3 separate regions of the Homo sapiens genome follow, and regions 1 and 2 are each linked to region 3. The links are contacts of gene promoters, found by promoter capture Hi-C in human tissues and cell types (Jung and others, 2019). All regions are on one chromosome and are shown on one strand. The core of a region is centred on a gene start or on the middle of the fragment in contact, and the rest is flanking DNA. Distances in the headings are between cores, read along the strand shown.

The links. Contacts are between HindIII fragments. The study calls those that stand out against the background at their distance.
Region 1: a fragment that was not itself captured here is called in contact with the fragment with the promoter of PRKAG1 in region 3 in 2 of the 25 tissues and cell types used here (H1 embryonic stem cells and lymphoblastoid cells).
Region 2: the fragment with the promoter of RND1 here is called in contact with the fragment with the promoter of PRKAG1 in region 3 in 1 of the 25 tissues and cell types used here (IMR-90 fibroblasts).

What each region holds. Positions count from the first base shown.
Region 1 is chr12:48,842,507-48,846,330 of GRCh38, forward strand. It overlaps DDX23 (DEAD-box helicase 23), which reads right to left. Exons shown (of 17, transcript NM_004818.3): 2 at 3,068-3,276; 3 at 1,434-1,544. The coding sequence starts at 3,276. Among named protein-coding and RNA genes, the nearest start is that of DDX23, 7.7 kb to the right of the region's middle. The HindIII fragment of the contact is 6,479 bases long and covers 1-3,824 here.
Region 2 is chr12:48,863,390-48,867,146 of GRCh38, forward strand. RND1 (Rho family GTPase 1) reads right to left here and starts at 2,481. Exons shown (of 5, transcript NM_014470.4): 1 at 2,259-2,481; 2 at 1,394-1,481. The coding sequence starts at 2,378. RefSeq lists enhancers at 2,295-2,414, 2,675-2,804. The HindIII fragment of the contact is 19,361 bases long and covers 1-3,757 here.
Region 3 is chr12:49,016,893-49,020,868 of GRCh38, forward strand. It overlaps PRKAG1 (protein kinase AMP-activated non-catalytic subunit gamma 1), which reads right to left and starts at 1,884. Exons shown (of 12, transcript NM_002733.5): 1 at 1,840-1,884. The coding sequence starts at 1,848. KMT2D (lysine methyltransferase 2D) reads right to left here. Exons shown (of 55, transcript NM_003482.4): 55 at 2,086-3,976. It overlaps DDN-AS1 (DDN and PRKAG1 antisense RNA 1), which reads left to right. Exons shown (of 2, transcript NR_147179.1): 2 at 1,344-2,348. RefSeq lists enhancers at 925-1,515, 2,088-2,287. The HindIII fragment of the contact is 13,264 bases long and covers 1-3,845 here.

The DNA of each region.
Region 1 (3,824 bases), core at 694-3,193, 170 kb before region 3:
AGCCCCCCGCCCGGCCAGCCGCCCCGTCCGGGAGGGAGGTGGGGGGGTCAGCCCCCCGCCCGGCCAGCCGCCCCGTCCAGGAGGTGAGGGGCGCCTCTGCCCGGCCGCCCCTACTGGGAAGTGAGGAGCCCCTCTGCCCGGCCAGCCGCCCCGTCCGGGAGGGAGGTGGGGGGGTCAGCCCCCCGCCCGGCCAGCCGCCCCGTCCAGGAGGTGAGGGGCGCCTCTGCCCGGCCGCCCCTACTGGGAAGTGAGGAGCCCCTCTGCCCGCCCACCACCCCGTCTGGGAGGTGTACTCAACAGCTCATTGAGAACGGACCATGATGACAGTGGCGGTTTTGTGGAATAGAAAGGCGGGAAAGGTGGGGAAAAGATTGAGAAATCGGATGGTTGCCGTGTCTGTGTAGAAAGAGGTAGACATGGGAGACTTTTCATTTTGTTCTGTACTAAGAAAAATTCTTCTGCCTTGGGATCCTGTTGATCTGTGACCTTACCCCCAACCCTGTGCTCTCTGAAACATGTGCTGTGTCCACTCAGGGTTGAATGGATTAAGGGTGGTGCAAGATGTGCTTTGTTAAACAGATGCTTGAAGGCAGCATGCTCGTTAAGAGTCATCACCACTCCCTAATCTCAAGTACCCAGGGACACAAACACTGCGGAAGGCCGCAGGGTCCTCTGCCTAGGAAAACCAGAGACCTTTGTTCACTTGTTTATCTGCTGACCTTCCCTCCACTATTGTCCTGTGACCCTGCCAAATCCCCCTCTGCAAGAAACACCCAAGAATGATCAATTAAAAAAAAAAAAACCCAAAAAAAACAAAATCTGGTGGCAGATGCCTGTAGTCCAGCTACTCAGGAGGCTGAGGTGGGTGGATCACCTAAGCCTGGGGGAGTCAAGGCTGCAGTAAGTTGTGATCACACCACTGCACTCCAGCCTGGGCAAAAGAGACCCTGCCTCAAAAAAATAAATAAAAATAAATAAGAAAGAGAGCTCTGTAATAACTACCAACAGAATCTGTTAAGAGAAATCTACTTTCTTTCTTTCTTTTTTTTTTTTTTTTTTTGAGACAGAGTCTTGCTCTGTCGCCCAGGCTGGAGTGCAGTGGCGTGATCTCGACTCACTGCAGGCTCCGCCTCCCGGGTTCACGCCATTCTCCTACCTCAGCCTCCTGAGTAGCTGGGACTACAGGCACCCGCCACCACGCCCGGCTAATTTTTTGTATATTTAGTAGAGACGGGGTTTCACCATGTTAGCCAGGATGGTCTCGATCTCCTGACTTCGTGATCCACCAGCCTCAGCCTCCCAAAGTGCTGGGATTACAGGCGTGAGCCACCACGCCTGGCGAGAAATCTACTTTCATAAGAAGCTGAGCAAACTCAGGTGCAGAGAAGAAATGGGAGCATTCCCCTAAAGCCCCCTCTCATTCCTTCATGTACCTGGATCGTTTACGGTCCTTGTCCCGTCTGTGCCCATCCTTGTCTCGATCTCGGTCCTTCTTATTCCGATCCCGCTCCTTATCTCGTTCTCGTTCTTTGTGCCGTCGTTCTCTGGAAGACCGCAAATTTAAGAGTTCACTTGGTATTTCCAAAGTATCTTGCTTCACTGCAGCCCTGAGAAAGTTCCTATACTCTCGTCCCAAAGTAATGTTTTACAAATTAGAGAATGTATCTCTCACGGAAATAACGAGGGAATTCTAAGAAGCTTTTATAGATCAGAGATGTACTGTTAAATATTAACGGCAATGACAGGTCACGGACTATGTGAACAGATGAACCTTCCTTTTTTATTTTTTTGAGATGGAGTCTCACTCTCACGCCCAGGCTGGAGTGCAGTGGTGTGATCTCGGCTCACTGCAGCCTCTGCCTCCCGAGTTCAAGGAATTGTCATGCCTCAGCCTCCCGAGTAGCTGGGATTACAGATGTGCACCACCATGCCTGGCTAATTTTTGTATTTTTAGTAGAGACGGGGTTTTGCCATGTTGGCCAGGCTGCTCTCAAACTCCTCACCTCAAGTAATCCACCTACCTCGGCCTCCCAAAGTGCTGGGATTATAGGTATGAGCCACCGCGCCCGGCCACAGATGAACCTTCCTTGATAACCCGGACCTTCACCTTACTAGTTCCCTCTCAACTTTTTTTTTTTTTATTTTTAGTAGAGATCAGGTATCACTGTGTTAGCCAGGATGGTCTCGATCTCCTGACCTCGTGATCCACCTGCCTCGGCCTCCCAAAGTGCTGGGATTACAGGCGTGAACCAACCGCGCCCGGCCCCCTCTCAACTTTTAAGAGTTGGGTCACTGAGGAAAACTGAAAACACCTGCAGGTCCAACTGGGCTAGGAGTAGATTAATGTACAAAAAGTAGATGCCTAGCCGGGCGTGGTGGCTCACGCCCGTAATCCCAGCACTTTGGGAAGCTGAGGTGGGTGGATCACCTGAGGTCGGAAGATTGAGATCAGCCTGACCAACGTGGAGAAACCCCGTCTCTACTAAAAGTACAAAATTAGCCAGGTGTGGTGGCACATGCCTGTAATCCCAGCTATTCGGGAGGCTGAGGCAGGAGAATTGCTTGAACCTGGGAGGCAGAGGTTGCAGTGAGCCGAGATCGTGCCATTGCACTCCAGCCTGGGAAACAAGAGTGAAACTCCATCTTTTAAAAAAAAAAAAAAAAAGGCCAGGCGCGGTGGCTCACGCCTATAATCTCAGCACTTGGGGAGGCTGAAGCAGGCAGATCACGTCAGGAGATCGAGACCATCCTGGCTAACACGGTGAAACCTCATCTCTACTAAAAATACAAAAACATTAGCCGGGCATGGTGTCGGGCGCCTGTAGTCCCAGCTACGCACTCAGGAGGCAGAGGCAGGAGAATGGCGTGAACCTGCGAGGCGGAGCTTGCAGTGAGCTGAGATCGCACCACTGCACTCCAGTCTGGGTAACAAACAGAGCGAGACTCTGTCTCAAAAAATAAAAATAAAAAGTAGATGCCTAATACTGGAGGCATCAGAAGAACCAAGAAGGAAGAAATCTGAAACGTACTCTCCCTTCCCATGTAATAACATACAAAGTTACTTTACCTTTCTGCAGATTTGGAACGGGAACGAGAGCGAGAACGGCTGCCTCCTCGACGTCTATCCCTTGAACGATGCCGCTTTCTATCTTTAGATGGGGAAGACTTCCGGTCCCGGTCTCTATCCCGCTCTCTGTCAGGAGTCCGTGATCGCTTCCTTTCCTCCTTGGAAGGTGATGCATCACGGTCCTTTTTGTCAGCCAGCTCTCCTGCCATCTGTAATGAGTAGGAAGAGTACTTACAATGTACTAGGCACTGCTCTAAACTGCTTATATATAATTCAATTACCCTCAAAACAACCCTATGAGGTGGATATATTAGTATGTCTACCGTACAGATGAGAACGGTGGAGCTCAGGTATATAAAGGAACTTGTCTGAGGGCAGACAGGTAGTGGCAGAGTTGCAGGCAGTCTGGCTCCACAGGCCATCGTTACTCACTATATTGTCTCCCTGTAATTCCTTTCAGAGTCTCACTCTGTCACCCAGGCTGGAGTGCAGTGGTGCAATCATAGGTCACTGCAGCTTCAACTTCCTGGGCTCAAGCCATCCTCCTGCCTTGCCTAGCTAATTTATTTTTTTTATAGACAGGGTCTCACTATGCTGCCCAGGCTGGTCTTAAATTCCTGACCTCAAGCAATCCTCCTGCCTCAGCCTCTAAAAGGCTGAGATTACAGGCGTGAGCCACAGTGCCTGGTCGATTCCTTTTTATATATTCATTTCTAAATATGTACAGTGAATATACCATGTTTTTGTAATTAGACTA
Region 2 (3,757 bases), core at 1,231-3,730, 150 kb before region 3:
TTGAGGGCTGCATTCTGACTGTCAAAGGAGGGAGGAGGTGGGGGGAGGGCGTTTGGGCGGTGGTAGTGAAAAGAGATGAGCTGCAGTAAGATTCTGGGAAGATTGGAAGGTGGGAGGGTACAGCAGATGAAAAACCAAAAATTATACATCATGCCATCAAGCTGCATTCTAGCCCAATCTTGCCAGCATAGCACAGCCCAGGAGAACCAGAACGCTGCCTCCCAAGCCCTGAAACTGCAACAGGGAAAAGCATACCAGATTGGGGAATTTTTGTTTGGGGAGGAAAGGCTCATTGTCTGTCTAACCATTCCCTAGCCCCAATCTTTTCAGACCTCAGAATTAGAGCATGGGAACAACAGCTGTTGAAGGAGCAGGACAGCATATTTATTATATGTAGCAGGAAACACCTAGTGATTTACGGTCCCTTTTTAAACTCAGCCTGAATATGCATTTTTGGGGAGGGGTGGATTTTATTTTCTTTCTCTTATTCCCGGCTTTTACTCCTTAATTATGACTCTGAGCCAGTCTATTGAAAAAGGTCTGGGGTAAAGAGATAATGGGAAGGGGTCAGAATCAAGGCAAAGGATAGCCTAGCACTAAGGGCTTGGGGCTGAGAGGCTGGAAAAACATTGTTTCTACATTCTAGAGAGACAGGGCATATTCTACCTCACCCCAGTAGAGGGAAAACAGTCAGAGCCAACCTCCCCTCTGCCCTGCCGGCCACTATTCACAACTGACTATGCCCTATATTAAGCCATCTCCCCCAACTTCCAAAACATCGATGATGCATTGCTTCATCCCCGAGCTGCAGCGGTGTGACGAGTGGGGCTGAGCTGCGGCAGGAGGACAGCAGTGGCCCAAGATGGAATGCAGGAGACAAAACTGAGTCTGAGCAACCTTTCCCCAAAGCAGACTTGTCTCTCCGCCCCAACCACGCTGCCTCCAGCAGCACTGCCTCTTGCCTCTTATTTGGCTTTGCTCTGGGGAAGTAAAAGGTGTGTGTGTGTGTGTGTGTGTGTGTGTGTGTGCGCGCGCGCGCGTGTGTGTGCATGTGTGTACGCGTGCATGTTGGGTGGTAGGGAATGGAAATGGAGAAGTCCTGTTTTACTGCCCACCCCCAGGACTATTCATGGGTCCCTTCACCTCACCATCCCAGCCCTCTAAAGGGTGGAACCAGACCCAGGGAAGAGAGTGGCTCCTGGGGTTCACCCACTCTGCACCCTTGGACCATGCAACTGAGTCCACCAACTGTCAGCCCTCCCCACAACTAATGAGTCTTCAGATCCTCTTTTTTCACTTCTCCCCACCAAAGGGGAAAACAATTTCTAAAAGACAGCAGCTACACAGCAGACCAGTAGGGGTGGGAAAGGGGTATTTGGAGCAGAATTCTTACCTGAGGTATCCCAGAGACTAAGCTCCACCCTCTGTTCCTCTGTCTCCAAACAGGCTGTGTAATTTTCGAACACGGTGGGCACATAGGTCTGTGAAAAGAGAGGAAACATTCACCCCATGCACCCCTACCCTCAGATCCCCTGGTTAGTGCTGGCTACACACGCACTCACCAGAGAGACAGTAAAGTCACAGGAGACAAGAAACCAGAGGAGATGCCTGGGGCAGGAGGGAAGGGACTGTGGAGGACCAGGCACTTTGCTCTGCAGCAGTGAGAAATGTGAATGACACCCCCCCACACCACCACACCAGGGGTAAGCCCCCCATATCCTAGGCGATCAGGGACACACACACACACAGATTCCTCCCATCCCCAGATTTGTGTTTCCCAATTTGAGAGAGCCACAGGCCAAAGCCAATCCTAGCTCATCTCCTCTCAAACCCCTCCCGGCCAGGTGAACAGAGGGGCTGCAGAAGCCTGCCTGAAGGCACAGGCATAGAGCCTTTGAGGAGCAGGTGAGCGGATAGGCAGGGATTACGTCAAGAAGAAACCCCAGACTTTCAAATGCCTCCAGTGCCCTCACCTGAGAGCAGACTCCAGGGACGCAGGAAGGTGGAGGGGATCTGATGGGTCCTCTGGGTGAAGAGGTGAGGAGGAGCCAGCGGGGCGGCAGAAGTGGAACAGGTCTCAGGGGAAGCTAAGGCAGGGCAGTCCTCCAGCCAAAAAGCAGCTGAGGATGGTAAAGCCTCAGAAAGCGGCTGAGGATGGGCTGGGGCTGGGGGAGCCACGTCTCCTGAGCAGGTGGAAATCTACCCCAAGGCGGGCAGGCAGGGAGAAAAGCCGGCCAGCGGGCGGGCGGGCAGCTCACCTCTGGATAGCAATCCTTCGCTAACACTTGCAACATCGCGGTCTTCCCACACTGCACGTCCCCGACCAGAACGAGCTTACATCTGGCCACGACTGGCTGGGGGGCCCGTCTCTCCTTCATGGTTGCAGTGTCCGCGGGACTTGAACTTCGATTCAGAAGGGAGGGTTGCGCCAGGTGCGTCTCAGCACGCCAATCAAGCCAGATTCCCTGCCTCCCTCCAACTGAGGAGGAGGCCGGCACAGCCGCCTTTTATTTTTCTGGCTGAGCCAATCACAAGAGGAGGCGGACTCTGTTACGCCCAATCCCTGAGGTGGGATTCCCTCCAGCAGCCAATGGATCTGAGGATCTGAGTCAGCGCCCCCTTCCTCCCTTCTCTTTCTCTTAAAGCTGCACCGTTGTTTCCCCCTGAAAGGGGATTCCCAGGTTGTTTTGCATTTGTATTAGGAAGTGGAAAGGGTACTGGAAGCAAAATGAAATGATCTGGAGTGTCTACCAATAAGTGTCAGAAAAACAAACTAGCTATGGAAGCAGGAAGTGAGGTCAGGCTGGAGTTGCAGGGACTGTCCCGGGTGGGTTACAAAAGCAGGACCTGCTTAGACTATAGACAGGTGTGTGTGTGTGTGTGTGTTTTGGAGGAGTAGGGGATGGGGGAGGTGGCCCAGAACTTCTCTGACATTTTTTTTCTTTTTTTTCCTTACATCTTTTGTTTTAAATAGAGACAGGGGTCTCACCATGTTATCCAGGCTGGTCTTGAACTTCTGGGCTCAAGCAATCCGCCTGTCTCAGCCTCCCAAAGTGCTGGGACTACAGACATGAGCCACAGCGCCTGGCCTGATGTCTGACTTTTTTGTTTTTTCTAATTCCCATCCAAACCAGTTCTTACTTCCCTTTATTTCCCCTCCCAATATCAGCTCCTGCTGTACCTCTTTTATTTATTTATTTATTTATTTATTTATTTATTTATTTATTTATTTATTTATTTTGAGATGGAGTTTCGCTCTTGTTGCCCAGGCTGGAGTGCAATGGCACGATCTCAGCTCACTGCAACCTCCATCTCCCGGATTCAAGCGATTCTCCTGCCTCAGCCTCCCGAGTAGCTGGGATTACAGGCATGCACCACCATGCCCAGCTAATGTTGTATTTTTAGTAGAGACGGGGTTTCTCCATGTTGGTCAGGCTGGTCTCGAACTCCCGACCTCAGGCGATCCGCCCGCCTTGGCCTCCCAAAGTGCTGGGATTATAGGCGTCAGCCACCGTGCCCGGCCTGTGCCCCTTTTAAAGCCTTCTCTTCTTCAAGAATCACCTTCACCACCAAAGACAGAGAGAGAGAAAGAGAAAGAGAAAACTTTCTAGAGTCATCCATAAAAAAAACACACAGCACCTGACCCAGTGATGGGCAGAGAGAAATGAGGGACTCTGGCAAGTGGGGGTGGGAGAGAGGAAGAAGACAAAGCAAACACAGTCACTGTTTGGCCAGACAGCCTCTCACCCATGCCTAG
Region 3 (3,976 bases), core at 634-3,133:
TCTTAGCCTGCTTTTCCAGTCTTTTCTCCCACTGTGACCAAAATCCAAAGCCAGCAACATCATGCCGCTGGCTCACCCCCAGTTCTCTACATACCCCAATTTCAGTGCCCTTGCTCACACTGTTCTCTCAATTTGCAGTGCCCTCTCCTAGGTCCAAAGTAATTTTTCTCTCAGCTATTCTGTCACAGTCCTCTGTTTTCATATTGATGACAGCATTTATTATAGTCTACCTTTAAATAACAGCTGTTGCTGGCTTGCCCTCACCATCACTCCAGTTAGGCTGAACATTTTCAAAGCAGGAGTTTTCTTTCTTTTCTTTTTTTTTGGAGACAGGATCTCACTGTGTCACTCAGACTGGAGTGCAGTGGCATGATCTCAGCTCACTCCAGCCTCCACCTCTTTGGATCAAGCGATCCTCCCACCTGAGCCTCCCGAGTAGCTGGGACTACAGGCACACACCACCACCACCACGCCTGGGTAATTTTTGTATTTTTGTTTCTGTCGAGACAGGCTTTCATCATGTTGCCCAGGCTGATGCTGAACTCCTGAGCTCAAGCAATCCACTTGCCTTGGCCTCCCAAAGTACTGGCATTACAGGCGTGAGCCACCACACCTGGCTGAGTTTTCTTTTTCCTCTTTTTAACTTCTACCCCAGAGCCTAATCCAGTACATAAAGTGTAAAGGCTAAATTAGAAAATCTATATAAAAATGCTTTGTAAACCATAATACATTTACAAGTAAGTAGAATATGACATGTCATTTTAAATTTAATGGAATTAGACTCCTTATTTTTGTTTAAGATTATCCTGATTAGTCAGAATTGGCTCCCTTGCCTGGGAGACCAACTGCGAATCATTTTAGTACTTTGGTCGGTTTTCTTTTTGAAAACCTGAAAGAAACAACCTCTCTGTGAGCAGAGAAACGGTGTGGCAAAGAATTACTCTGGGCATGTAATCCAAAGCAAAGTGAACCTGCAGTCCTTTCGTAACTACAGTAGCAGATGATAAAAACCAAGATGGAAAGAGTTACTCTGCCTGAAAGAAGACACATGGTTAAAAACTGTGGAGAGGGAAGTGTATGGGAGGGGTTACAGAGCGCTAGAAAAAGACTCCTGAGAGTGAGGGTGGGTGCAAACATGTAGCAGGCAACCCGCAGCATCTGTGGGAGGGTGACAGGGCCCTGCCACAATTGGTCAATGCCTGCTCGCCAAGAATGAGCTATGCCAAAACCCCTGCTTAGAGTCGCAGAGCGGGCCATGACCTAAAATTGTCCAGGGACACATCGGCCTCTAACACTGCAAGATTTCCTCTTTCAAGCAAACCTCAATTCTCGGTCTTATTAAGGGAATGTGACTTCACTGGACGCAGTATAAAGATCTTCAGATGTCCTCCTGCCGGGGATTGCAGGGATCACAGAAAGACCATCGAGGTCCAGGAGCTACCTGCAAGCGGAGATCCCTCTGGACGCCCCGTGCCTCACCCAGCAAAGCCGGCTCACAACCCTGCGCTCTCAAACCTCTAAAAGGGCTTGAGGTGCCAATAGGAAAGGAGGCCCGAGATTGCCACGGCATACGTGGGCCCCAAGGAGGGAGCCAGGAGTCACTGCCTGCTTGGGCTAAGGGTACCGCGTACGGAAAGGCGGCGGGGACGCGGCCCAGTTCCAGGAGATGCGCCCAACGAAGAAGCGGAGGAACAGGGTCACGGGATAGGGCAGACACCCGGCTGCTTTTTGTTTGCTAGACACCAGCGCCAGCCCCTGCCCGGCCCTCCCGGTCTCCTAAGGGTTGGGGGGGTGTCTTAGGCTCCACAGCGCCCCCGACCGCCCTCCTGCACTCCTCACCGTCTCCATTGCAAGAGGCGCCCGGCTTGGTTTCCTCGCTTTAGGAAACTCTCTTGGGGCAGGCCCCGCCCCACATCCGGTGCGGCGACGCCACTTCCGCCCACGTCATGGCAGTCGCCAGACTGGGGCGGAAGGCAAGGAACCCACCCTTCCGGCGGTGGCGGGCCTCGGTAACCGCCCTCCCCCGGGTCCTCGCGGACCGCACGGATCCGGCTGACGGCGAGGGTCATGGGACGGAGCCGCTTGTATTTAAAATGTTCTTTTTTTATTTGTCGTTTAAAAACAAACTTGGAAGAAGCAAAATCCAAAACTTGCCCTTTGCCTCTCGCAACATAAATATGTACAGTTCAGAATGATCGCTGATACAAAACATGCCAAGGACAGGGGCGCTGAGGGTGGAGGGAGAGAGGGCGCTTTAAAAAAGGGAACCATTTCATCCGTTGTTACGAAGGACCAACCTTGCTGTACAGGATACACACAACACAAAATAAAGTCTTCACGGGATTCACACTTGTCAGCGATTTATTTTTTAAAAAGGGGGAGGGTCCTGGAGGTGAGGGGAGAAGACTGTAAAGGGGAAAACTGAAAACTGAGTATGTGCGAGTGTAAACCAACCCAAAATACAAACACGGGGGCGGGGGGTGGGGTGGGGGATTCTGATGCAATTATACAGGCAGGGTACTTAAAAAAAAAACCAACCAAAATTCCAACCTTGTAGCTTGGGTCTGAGTTATAGTTTATATAAAAATTAAAAACTGTATAAGGTTTCTTCACTAAATTCTACAGGACTATCGGATACCTAGCATATGCTTACAAAGTCTGCCCCATCCCCTTTTCCCAATCCCAGGGCCCAAGCCCCAAACACAGCCTGACTCACGGGAGCCAATCTCCCCCTCCCTGTAGCCTAGACCTTCTGCTCTCGGAAAAGGAACATCCAAGGGCTGTGGCTTTGAGGGCAGCAGCCCAGTCTTCCTACTGTCTGATTTAATTACAGCGGTTCCTGTGGGAGTGGGGGCTGTTATTCTCTTAAACATTTGCAGCTTGAAACAGTTGAGGAAGCAGCTTTAAAAAAAAAAAATCTCCCTACCCCCAACAATCCACAACCCCCCAAATTCAAAACAAAACAAAAACAAACCTAAAATCACAACAGCGACCAAGCTCCCCCTCCAGCAGGCCCGCCCGTCCACCACCACCAAGCCCACCCCTACACTCCAGACATCTGATTCTTGAAAATATTAATTACAAAATGCCCTTTGCCCACAGCCCCTAGAAGAGAACTGCATATAAGCTTCATCTTCATCCCCACGGTTCCCTACCAGAGAGGGGTTTGGGGCCTCACCCACCCCTTACCTACTCCCACCCCCAGGAAGAGGTTCAACTGCAGCACAAGCTTGGGCAGAAAGGGGAAGGAAAGGGAGGCAAGGAACCCATCACCCTCTGGCTCCCCCTGGGGTCAGCTCTCTTTTGTGCGTTATAACATAGTCCAACTATACAACAGGGGGTGGGAATTGCCCAGCCTCTATACCCCCATCTTACAGCAGTCACAGCCAGGGGGTGGGGAGTGGGGTGGGGGGTGAGGAAAAGGGCGGTAGGTCGGGTAATGGAGGGGGCCCCCCCACAAGGGGAGCTCCATGTGTCCGCCCCACACCCCCCTACCATTTATAAACTGGTTTTGTAAAAAGAAAATAGATATATTTATATAGAATATATAAAGCACAAAAATTAGTAGTTTTACATTTGCTCTCCCCGGGGGGTGGGGGGAGAGGGGAGGGTTCTCACCTCCAGCCGGCTCCCCCATGCCCCACAAGACTATGTACAATCCCATGTATAAATAGATAAATACCCCCCACCCTCCCCGCGCTGACACTAAGCTCCCCCACCCCCACATCACCACCCCTTCCCACCAGACCAGCAGCAGTTTGGTGACTGAGGGAAAGTGGGAGCTCCGGGCCACACCCTGCCTCACTAGGTATGGGCATGCCACTCAGGGATAGCCCTCACCCTACCCCCCACCCAACCCGTCCAGGGGCTGGAGGGCAAACAGGCTCATGATGAGGTTGGGAAAACAGGAGGGAGATATCCTGGTCCTAGGTTTAGCTCCCTCCTGCCCCCATGTCCAGATGGAGAAGGAAGTCCT